Linked DNA regions of Homo sapiens: all the other regions are linked to region 1. Evidence: promoter capture Hi-C in human tissues and cell types (Jung and others, 2019). All regions are on one chromosome and are shown on one strand. The core of a region is centred on a gene start or on the middle of the fragment in contact, and the rest is flanking DNA. Distances in the headings are between cores, read along the strand shown.

The links. The method cuts DNA at HindIII sites, captures the fragments that hold promoters and counts their contacts. A contact is called where the count stands out against the background at its distance.
Region 2: a fragment that was not itself captured here is called in contact with the fragment with the promoter of BOP1 in region 1 in 1 of the 25 tissues and cell types used here (spleen).
Region 3: a contact is called between the fragment with the promoter of ZNF250 here and the fragment with the promoter of BOP1 in region 1, in 1 of the 25 tissues and cell types used here (spleen).

Annotation. Positions count from the first base shown.
Region 1 is chr8:144,289,816-144,293,098 of GRCh38, forward strand. BOP1 (BOP1 ribosomal biogenesis factor) reads right to left here and starts at 1,623. Exons shown (of 16, transcript NM_015201.5): 1 at 1,457-1,623. The coding sequence starts at 1,555. It overlaps HSF1 (heat shock transcription factor 1), which reads left to right and starts at 1,789. Exons shown (of 13, transcript NM_005526.4): 1 at 1,789-2,059. The coding sequence starts at 1,943. RefSeq lists silencers at 1,367-1,866, 1,977-2,136 and enhancers at 2,268-2,924, 2,527-2,586. The HindIII fragment of the contact is 19,250 bases long and covers 1-3,283 here.
Region 2 is chr8:144,997,752-145,001,034 of GRCh38, forward strand. It overlaps the pseudogene ZNF252P and the pseudogene TMED10P1. Among named protein-coding and RNA genes, the nearest start is that of ZNF252P-AS1, 3.4 kb to the right of the region's middle. The HindIII fragment of the contact is 5,765 bases long and covers 1-3,283 here.
Region 3 is chr8:144,899,710-144,902,992 of GRCh38, forward strand. It overlaps ZNF250 (zinc finger protein 250), which reads right to left and starts at 1,744. Exons shown (of 6, transcript NM_001109689.4): 1 at 1,690-1,744. It overlaps LOC124902042, which reads left to right and starts at 1,915. Exons shown (of 1, transcript XM_047422534.1): 1 at 1,915-2,572. The coding sequence starts at 1,973. The coding sequence ends at 2,572. RefSeq lists enhancers at 1,090-1,694, 1,695-2,297, 2,298-2,901 and silencers at 1,428-1,537, 2,598-2,677. The HindIII fragment of the contact is 10,274 bases long and covers 1-3,283 here.

The sequences.
Region 1 (3,283 bases), core at 373-2,872:
GAAGCAGACGCCTCCTCATTTAACCAGATTGGGACCAACGATTGATCAGTAAATTGAAAGGATTGGCTGAAGAGTCACAGGAATGATAGAGACTCTAACCGCAACCACGCACCAACCCACCCACTCCTCTCTCTGAGCAGGACCACAGCTGCCTCTGAGCAGAGCCCTGCTGGCTGCGTGACACCGGCACACACAGTGTTCGGGTCCTTCACTGGCCTTAAAGGGTGGAACAAGAACTTAGACTCTTAGGAAGCAGTTGAAGGCCAGGCACAGTGGCTCACTCCTGTAATCCCAACACTTTGGGAGGCTGAGGCGGGTGGATCACCTGAGGTCAGGAGTTCAAGACCAGCCTGGCCAACATGGTGAAACCATCTCTACTAAAAATACAAAAATTAGCTGGTGGTGGCGGGCACCTCTAATCCCAGCTACTCAGGAGGCTGAGTTAGCCAGGAGGTGGAAGCTGCAGTGAGCCAAGACTGCACCACTGCACTCTAGCCTGGGCAACAGAGCCAGGCTCTGTCTCAAAAAAAAAAAAAAGAAAAAAGAAAGAAAAGGAAAAGAAAAGAAAAAGGAAGCAGTTGAATGCAGAATTCTAGATTTTACTGTTTTCCTAATAGTTTACAAGTCTCACTTAAGGTACGACCTGCATGTATTAGCTATTGCATACCGAGTGTTCACACAATGCCTCTCTCACACAGAGTCATGATGTGTCTTGGTATTCAGTCGGCTACACAATCACAATAACTAGTGGAAATGGCATCCGTGGCCTGGGCGCAAACAACTGGCTCCTGAGGACCGTTTAGTCCAAGGGTGGAAGTCGCAGAACCTGGCGCCTAGAGTGGCCTGCGGGCCATTCAGCCCATGGGAGCCAGGATGAGTTGAATTCGCTTCACAAAGCAATGGGGCAGTTTCAACAACCCAGCGCGGCCGCGGCCGAGGGGGCTGTGAGGGGCTGGCTGTCCATCCCCTCCACCACCCAATTTGATGATCCCCACAACCAAGACAGGGCTGAGCTAGCAGAGAGCAACAGTGAGTTCTAATACAGCAAATGCAGCAGACACTGGGTTCTATTCAGGTTTTCTTATTCTCATGTCTATCCCATGAGCATAAAAACGCAATTAACTAGCGTATACGTAGGTTAAGCATTTACTGGGAGCGCAAGCCGAGCCCTTTTATTGGCAGGATGCACAAATGGAACGGCTGGAGAGGCTGCTGCAAGGGGCGCCCCGTCCCCACTCCCCGCTCCCCCGTTTCTTTGCTTCCCGGACGCCGTCCTTTACCCCGCAGTCCGCTCTGCCTGAGACCCCCCGATAGAGGAGCTGCACCCACGCCCAAGACCGATTCACTGGGCGCGGGCGCCCAGGTGACAGAAGCCGGGCCCACCCGCCCCAGCGCGGCCACGTGCCCGCCGGGCCCTCTAGGGACGCGCCCCGCCGCCCCGCATCGCCACAGTCACCTCCGGCTCGGGCTCAGGCTCCAGTTCGGGCTCAGACCGCCGCTTCTCCGGCCGCACGCTCGGCGCCGCCGTGCGCCCCGCACCCCGCGAACCCGCCATGCCCCACCGCGCGCCGGCCGCCACCCGCACAGCCGCTTCCGACAGCGACCGGGCCGCGTGCGCAGGAGGACGCGCCCCGCCCAGCCCGGCCCCGATTGGCGGGTGGAGGGAAGGGGGTGGGACCAACACGCGCAGGCGCGCGGCTGGGCCGGGGACCAGGGCGGGGTCGGGGCCTGCGTGCTCGCGCCGGGGGTGACGCGGGAGGGCGGCAGCGGCGGCGGCGGGAGCGCGCCCGTTGCAAGATGGCGGCGGCCATGCTGGGCCCCGGGGCTGTGTGTGCGCAGCGGGCGGCGGCGCGGCCCGGAAGGCTGGCGCGGCGACGGCGTTAGCCCGGCCCTCGGCCCCTCTTTGCGGCCGCTCCCTCCGCCTATTCCCTCCTTGCTCGAGATGGATCTGCCCGTGGGCCCCGGCGCGGCGGGGCCCAGCAACGTCCCGGCCTTCCTGACCAAGCTGTGGACCCTCGTGAGCGACCCGGACACCGACGCGCTCATCTGCTGGAGCCCGGTGAGGGCAGCGCGCGGGCGCGGGGCCCGTGGGGACCGGGAGGGAGCAGGGCCGCGGCGGACGGCGCGGGAGGGCTGCGGGGAGGGGCCCTGCCGCACTTCAGCTTACGCGCGGTGAGCCTGCCCTGCCCCCGCCAGAGAAGGGCGGCGGGTCCCGAGCCTGCTCAGACCCAGAGCCTTAAGTTGGGAAAGCGGCTACGAGACCCACACTCGGTTCAACCCCTGCCCCAGCGAAGTTTCCCTGGGATGGGGAGAATGGGGCGTCTCTTGTATTGGGCTTCTGCTAACTGTTGGGCGGTTGCGGAAGTGTCCGCGCTTAGGGCAAGCACCCGGCTTCGCCAGCGGACGCTATGCCCCAGAGGACATCGGCGTCCCCAGGGGACAGCCTACGGGGTGCTGGGTCGGCAACTATTAGGAGAAAGTCAGGACTTGGCACGTGAAGTGGAGGGCGTTGCTGTAGTGGAACAGGAAAGGCAGTGGAAACAGTAAGACGTCATGAAGCTTCAGGTTGATCTCAAGCCCGTTTCCGAATCCCAAATCTGGGTTTCCCAAGAGGAGTTTTGTTTTTCATTCCTTATGGGGCATCTTTATTCGTGTTTCTGTCTTCAGTTGCCTGGCAGCAGGCTTGTTTACATGGTCCGACCCTGCAAGACCGGACAGCTCCGGTTTGCAGAAGTAAATCAGTGATTGTCTGGAGTTGGAGATCAGAATCTGCTGTTCACATCCCGGCTGTGACGTCGTGTCCGGTGAGGGGCAGAGCCACCGCCTGCGGCTGGCAAGTGATGACCTGAAGAAGGGCCACACTGGCCGAGTGGGGTGACTCTTGCTTGTAATCCCAGCACTTTGGGAGGCGGAGGCGGGTGGATCACTTGAGGCCAGGAGTTCGAGACCAGCCCGGACAATATGGCAAAACCCCAGCTCTACTAAAAATACAAAAAATTTGCCGGGCGTGGTGGTGCTTGCCTGTGGTCTTAGCTACTTGGGAGGCTGAGATAGGAGGACTCCCTGGACCTGGGAGGCAGAGGTTGCACTGAACCAAGATCCCGCCACTGCAGCCTGGCAAAGAGTGAGACCCTGTCTAAGAAAAAAAAGAAAAAAAAGAAAGGCCACTGATCATTGGGAGCTTTTGGAGGCACCGTGACCGGCAGGGTGCCACCAAGCATGTGTGGCCTCCCAGGAGCTAAGACCCCAGAGTTCTTCAGGCTCTGCTGAGTGCCTCCCATTT
Region 2 (3,283 bases), core at 414-2,913, 710 kb after region 1:
TCCTCTCATGTGGCATAAAAGTAGTTCTGTCGTTAACTTGTACAACATTGCCACCTGCTGTTAAGAATTGGTAGGTACTGCTTCTGAGAACCTGGCTGCAGATCCTTACCATAGGCAGCAGATGTTGAGAAAGTCTACATGTAGTATTACATATACTAAGTTACAGAGGGTACATCCAAGTCTACTTGGATTCCATTCTTAAACTTTTTTTTTTTTTTTTTTTTTTTTTTGGGACAGAGTCTTGCTGCGATGCCCAGGCTGAAGTGCAATGGTGCTATCTCAGCTTGCTGCAACCTTCACCTCCTGGGTTCGGGTAGTTCTTCCGCCTCGGCCTCCAGAGTGGCTGGGAGTGCAGGTGCATGCCACCACACCTGGCTGGTTTTTGTATTTTTGGTAGAGATGGAGTTTCACCGTGTTGGCCGGGATGGTCTTGAACTCCTGACCTCAAGTGATCCACTGACCTCAGCCTCCCAAAGTGCTGGGATTACATGTGTAAGCCACTACGCCCATCCTCCATCATTAAACTTTTTAATGTGAAATTCTATCATGTACCATTAACCTAACAAGATTTTCTTTCCTATTTCTGACTGGTGCCTTTCCCCTTTTCAGGAGCAATGAAAGCTACTCTGTTAGTTATGTTCTTCTGATGTGACAAAATGTCAAGAAGATAGGAGAAGAGAATATTTTGTTTTGTTGATGCTTTTGTTCCCAAGTGTGACCCTAAACTTAAGCTTTGTAGGAGCTGATGTTCTCTCATGTCCCTTCCCTTTACTCATGCCAAAACTATCAACTAGGACATTTTGTGCTTTTGGTTTAAAAGTTAATTGATATTATACCTTGGTTTTATCCAAGAAGTAAAAGTATTTGCCTTTGACAAAAGACTGATACAAGAGCAAATAATCTTTAAAAACAGGGGTGTTATGTGCTTTCCTCCACTTTTGAGCATATTATCCAAAATGGTCTGTATAATATAAATGAGAATGATGCAGTTTAAGTAAGTATTTTTATACCATTGTCATGGACCCCTGTCATAAAGCCATTTTTCAGTTTGGGAAAGAGGCATATGGGATTTATACAGATTCACTTGTAAATGTTGCATTGGGGATTTTTGTGTAAATTTTCTCAAATAAAGGCTAGCAGAAACCAAAAAAAAAAAAAAAAAAGGGCTAAAGCGAAGAGCACATTCCAGTGAAAGGAAAGCAGGGCTCTGAAACCGAACAGATCCATATCCCAGATCTGCCACCAATAGGCTGTGTAAACTTAAGAAAAGTGACAGTATTTGTTAGCCTCAGGTTCGTTTATAAACTGTGTATCCTACCACCGATCATCAAGATGCAGAAAGATTAATTCAGGGGATAGGGAGGTACTAGGTGTGCAATGAATAATATTCTCCTTCTATAAATCAGGGAGGGTTGGAAAGGCATGGGAGGCCAAGGTGGGAGGATTCCTTGAGGCTAGGAGTTTGAGACCAACCTGGGCAACACAGAGGCTCTGTCTCTAAAAAAGTAAAATAAGACAGGCATGGTGGCCCATGCCTGTAGTCTCAGGTACTTGGGAGGCTGAGGTAGGAGGATCTCTTCAACCAAAGACGTCAAGGTTACAGTGAGCTATGGTCTCACCACTGCACTCCAGGATGGGCAACAGAGTGAGACATTGCCTATTAAAAAAAAAAATCAAGGAGGGTCCCAGTACCACCTGTCCCCCTCTCTGTGCAAACCAGACCTGCATGGTACCATGGTCAAAATGTCTGGTCTTTGGGCCCAGGGGGTGAGGAGCCTCTGAGCCCCAAGCTTGATCCTCAAGGTTAAGGAGCAGGAAGCCCAGGAGCTGAGCCCCAGGGAGGGAACTTACCTAATGAGAGTAGGTTCCCATAGGTCCCCATCATCACATCCTTGTAGAGGCCCCTCTGAGCAGGGATCAGACAGTCCCACTCCTCCTGGGAGAGGGGTACAGCCACATCCTCAAAGGAAACCACGATGTGGAATGACAAGATCTTGATGCAGCCCTCAGGTCAGGACCTGGAGGGAGAAGATATTAGGCTCAGGACTGGTAAAATCCCTCTGGGAACATGTACCTGTCTTCCCCACTAATGTGAACTCTTTGAGGCAGACACTATATTGGCTCATCTTGGTGTGCCCCAACTCTGACCTCTACTGTACCTGGTCCAGGGACAGTAAAACAGTGAGAAGTACATTTCAGGGACTTGAACTCAGGAACTGAGGACATCGGTGGAGACAGGGAGCTGTCCACCCTCTGGGACCAGCTCCTTATAGACAGACTCCTGCTGAGAAAAGGCTGAGGTCACATGGAAGAGACTCCATGAGGACCACTCACTTGGAGCCCACCAAGAAGGAGCTGCATGACAGCCATCACTAGGTCTCTGAGCTTGTCCTGAGGTGTGGGCAGAGCTGTAGGGAGAGGAGGGTGATGGAGCCTGACCAACCTTCTGCTCCCCATAGGTGCTCTGAGACTTCTAAGCCTAGACATTTTGTGGTAGCAGAGACCCAATTATGAGCTGCCTGAACACCCCAGGAAAGGTGGATGAACTAAGTAGCCAGTGGTCTCTGAGACCATATCCCCTCCCTAATTTTCTGCCATACCTCTCCATGTCTCAAGAGAGGCCTTCCTGAGGCCCCTGGGATGACAGCATCCTGAGGCCACCATGTGAAAGCCAGGACTGTGGCAGTGCACTTGGCCAGGAGAGACAATGGACTGCGTTTCCCAGGCCCACCTATGAGGTCCTGCGCAGACGGCAAACAGCTGAGAACAGCGGACCAGGCTCTGGTGCTAAGGCAGCGAATGAGCAAATGGAGAAGTTAACACATATGCATGACACACAGACACAACGCCCAGGTGGTGTCAGGTAATGACAAAGGATACAAAAAATTAATGACGCAGCACGAGGGCAGCGACTGGTGGTAAGAGATATTTTACACAGGATGGCCAGGGAAGACACCTCCGATAAAGTGACAACAAATCAGAGATCTGGATGGAGTGAGGGTAGGCACCATGTGGTTATCAGTGAGGTACATCCCAGGCAGGAGGAGGGCACAAGTGCAAAGGCTCTGAGATGCAAGCACACCTGTGTTCAAGAACGGGCAAAGAAGCCAGAGGGGCTCAAACAGACTAGGGGAGGGTAAAAGAGGTGGGTACCCTCTGGGGTGGGTACCTTGTAAGCCTTAGGGCAATGGGTTTTATTCTGAATGGATGGGAAGTGCCTGGAATGTCTGGGAAGAGTCATATGACCTCAGATGTGGTCTCTACAGCTGCTGCTTTGAGGGTG
Region 3 (3,283 bases), core at 494-2,993, 610 kb after region 1:
ATATGACAAAAGCGGTTTTTCAAATCAATGGGAAGATCAATGGTGTTAGAAATGGCTATGATTTAGAGGAAAAAAGGAATTCCAAAAGCTGTATTCCAAACTCACCCCACAATAAAATAAATTCCAGACGTATCCAACATTTTACAAGTACCACAGAAAAACAAGAGTTTATTTTAAAAATAATCTTGGAGTGGGGAAAGCCCTTTAAAACACAGCACAAAGCCCAAAATGCCTTAAGGCAAAATATTTGACTCCTAAAAATTTTAAATTTTCTATTTTGAAAAAGCCCAAACCAGAATCAAACACCATAATCAGAGTCAAAAGACAAATTGAGAAGCATGTTTTCAACATACATGGAAAAAAATATGAGCTGGCAAATCACAAAGAAATACAAATGGCGAAAACACAAATGAAGGGATTTCAATCTCACCAATAAACGCAAAACGTCGACCTGGCAGGAATGCAGTGACCTGTCAAAGCCCACAGGACCAGAGTCCCGTCCAGGGCGGGAATGTCAATGGCAATCTCCCACCCTTACCCACTTCGTAGAGACCACCGGACAGAGAAACCTATGTCCAGAAGACAAGTTACGAACTGAAAAATCTGCGAGTACCCACCCGGCGGAGGACGAGTGGAGCGCCCCCTGCCGCCCCTGGTGTTAGTCAAACGACACCAGCTTCCCTTTGATGACAGAAAAAAGGGTGTGCGTGCGTGCCTAAAGCTCTAACGGCATTCAAAAATTCTGAAACTGTTCACAGCTCCTGCCTCTTCATACACTGGCAGAGTGTCGGGGGGGATGACTTTTATATATTTCTGACATGCCTGCATTAGAAGAAGTATTGCATATTATTTTCAATTTTAAAATTAAGCCAATAAACAACAAGGAAAATATTTGCTGTGTTGCAAAGAGTTGGGCTCATTCATTAAAATAGGGCTCTAACACAGTAACAGAAAAGACAGCATCGACAGCAAAATGGGGAGAGGATAAGACACCCGGCAAGTAGCACACTCGACCAACTGCTGAAACGAAAGCAGCTCGTTTTCGTCTTGACGCGGGAAGACTTTTTATAGCTAAGTAAAGTGGCGCTCCCGGTGCGCCGCCGGGGTCTTCATGGGGCTCCTCAGGATGTGCATCAAACAGAAAAAACCTCCATTTTTATATTTTGGGGAAGCTCCCCACCCCTTTCCGGGCCCATCCCAGGGGACGCGAGACCCCGAGGAGCGCGGCAAGAAGAGCGGCCCGGGGGTCCGGACTGCGCCCCTAGGACTCCGGCCATCCTGGCCCTAGGCACGGCGCCCGGTAGAAAGCGCGCGGGAGGGCACGAGGGGGAGGAAGGCCGGAGATCTGAGGAGATCCAAGGTGGGAGGGACGCCGGTCTGACGGGGCCCAAGGGGGTAGGGGCGGGGAAGGGACCGAGGCCGTCCGAGGCGGACGGGGGTGCGGGAGGGCCTGAGGGGGTCCAAGGCCGGGCGAGGGGAAGGGTGGGAACCCCGAACGGGGGAGAGGGCGCGGCCTTGGCCCTGGGGAGGAGGCCGCCGCGCGTCCGTGAGGGGAGGGGACCAGCGTAAACGCAGGAGGCAGTGCGTGCTCGCGGGGAAGAGTCCACGATTCGTGTGGAGGACGCACCGGCTCCGGTGTCCGTGATGGGAGAGGGTCCTGGCCGGCGACGACACGCGCCCCCCACTCACCGTCAGAGCCGCAGCCTCACGCGCGAAGGAACGGCATCCCGCAGCACCTTCAGACAAAGGGCTGCCCCGCCCCGTCTGCGCAGCCGCCAATCCCTGGGGGCTCCTGCCCCTCAGTTCCCGCCCCCACAGCCGAGTTCGCCAATCCTGGAGGGCAAGCATGTTTACGTCATTTGGCCCGCCTGCCCGCCCGAAGCCTTTCTCGGTGACCGACTGCAGGGAGCTCTCAGGAGCCACCGAGAGCCAGACCTCCGCGATCCCTAGAGGGGCCGAACACCTCTGGGCAATGGGCCCGGCCGGCTCCCCGGCCGCACTTCCGGGCGCGGAGGTTACAGCCCATCGCCGAGCCTTACCCGCTCGCAGTCCCGGTTCCCGAGCTCCTGCCGCCGTCGCCCTGTGGAGGACACCCCTGCCGGCCCCGCAGTCCCTCCTCGACTTGCGCTGGCTTCGGCCGTCCTGGAACTCGAGCTCGTTCCCCCCTCCGAGCCTTTTGCCCTTGCGGTTCCCGCTGCTGGGAACGACCTTGCCCTCAGCCGCCTGGCTGGTCCCTGCGCCGCTGCAGTGCGAATGTCGCCTTCTCAGGGGCCCTTTCTCTTCCTTCGTTGCAACACTGAAGTCCTCTTGTTTGATGACTTGCGTGAGGTTATTCCTCCCACTTAGGAGGCTGAGTGCTGCGAGGTCCGAGGCGCAGCCGCTCTTCGCTGTGTCCGGCCCGGCGTGCTCCCGACAGGGGGCGTCACTGAACAGCGACCGTCTCCGTCGCCCACTCGGCCCTGGTGTTTGCTTTTTGGTGTGTTTACACCGCGCACCTGGGGGAGAGGGGCGGGCCTTCACGAGGGCGCGGGCCACACCCGTGTGGAGGCTTCGGGCACAGCCCAGGACCTGACAGCCGCGGCAGGGAGGGTGGGGCTGGTTTGGAGCGGTGTCAGGGGACGGGAAGGCTGACGCCTAGTCCACCTTCTGCTGGCCCCACTCCCGAAGGTCAGGTCCGCGTCGTCCATTGGGCGCGTGGGCGGGCCCAGACTCTCAAGAGGCTTCCCCACAGGGCGGGGCTGGGGGCTGCGTGGGGGCGGCGGGGAAGGCTTAAGGTTAGGGGGTAGGCTTGAAGCGAGTGCCCGGCCCGTGCTGTTGGGAGCGGAGGCCGGGAGGATGTGGCGATAATTCCGTACTTGCCGCGCACCAGGCAGACGCGAAGTCTGTGCTACGCTTCAGCGAACTTAGCAGCCCTTGCGGGCAGGGGTTCGCACTTCACGGAGCTACCATCCACCACGCGCGTTTCGAGCAATGGGCCCGTTGCCTGGCGCACTAGAAGCCAAAACGGTGGCACCAGTTTTTGAGAAAAGAGAAGGCTTTATTATTTCAAGGTCGACGGCCAAGGAGACCGGAGGCATGGCTCAAATGTGGCTCCCACATGTGGGCTTAGGTCAAAGTCGACGGGTTAGGGAGGACAGGTTGGCACACAGAAGTGCTGGCGGGCAGGTTTCAATAGGAGGGCTTTAAACTTGGCCATTTATGGTAAGGTGTGGAATGGCAGGTTTCAGCACCAGATCTTCCAGGATAATGGACCCTTCCCTTCTGAAAGCGTTCCGCCCCTCAA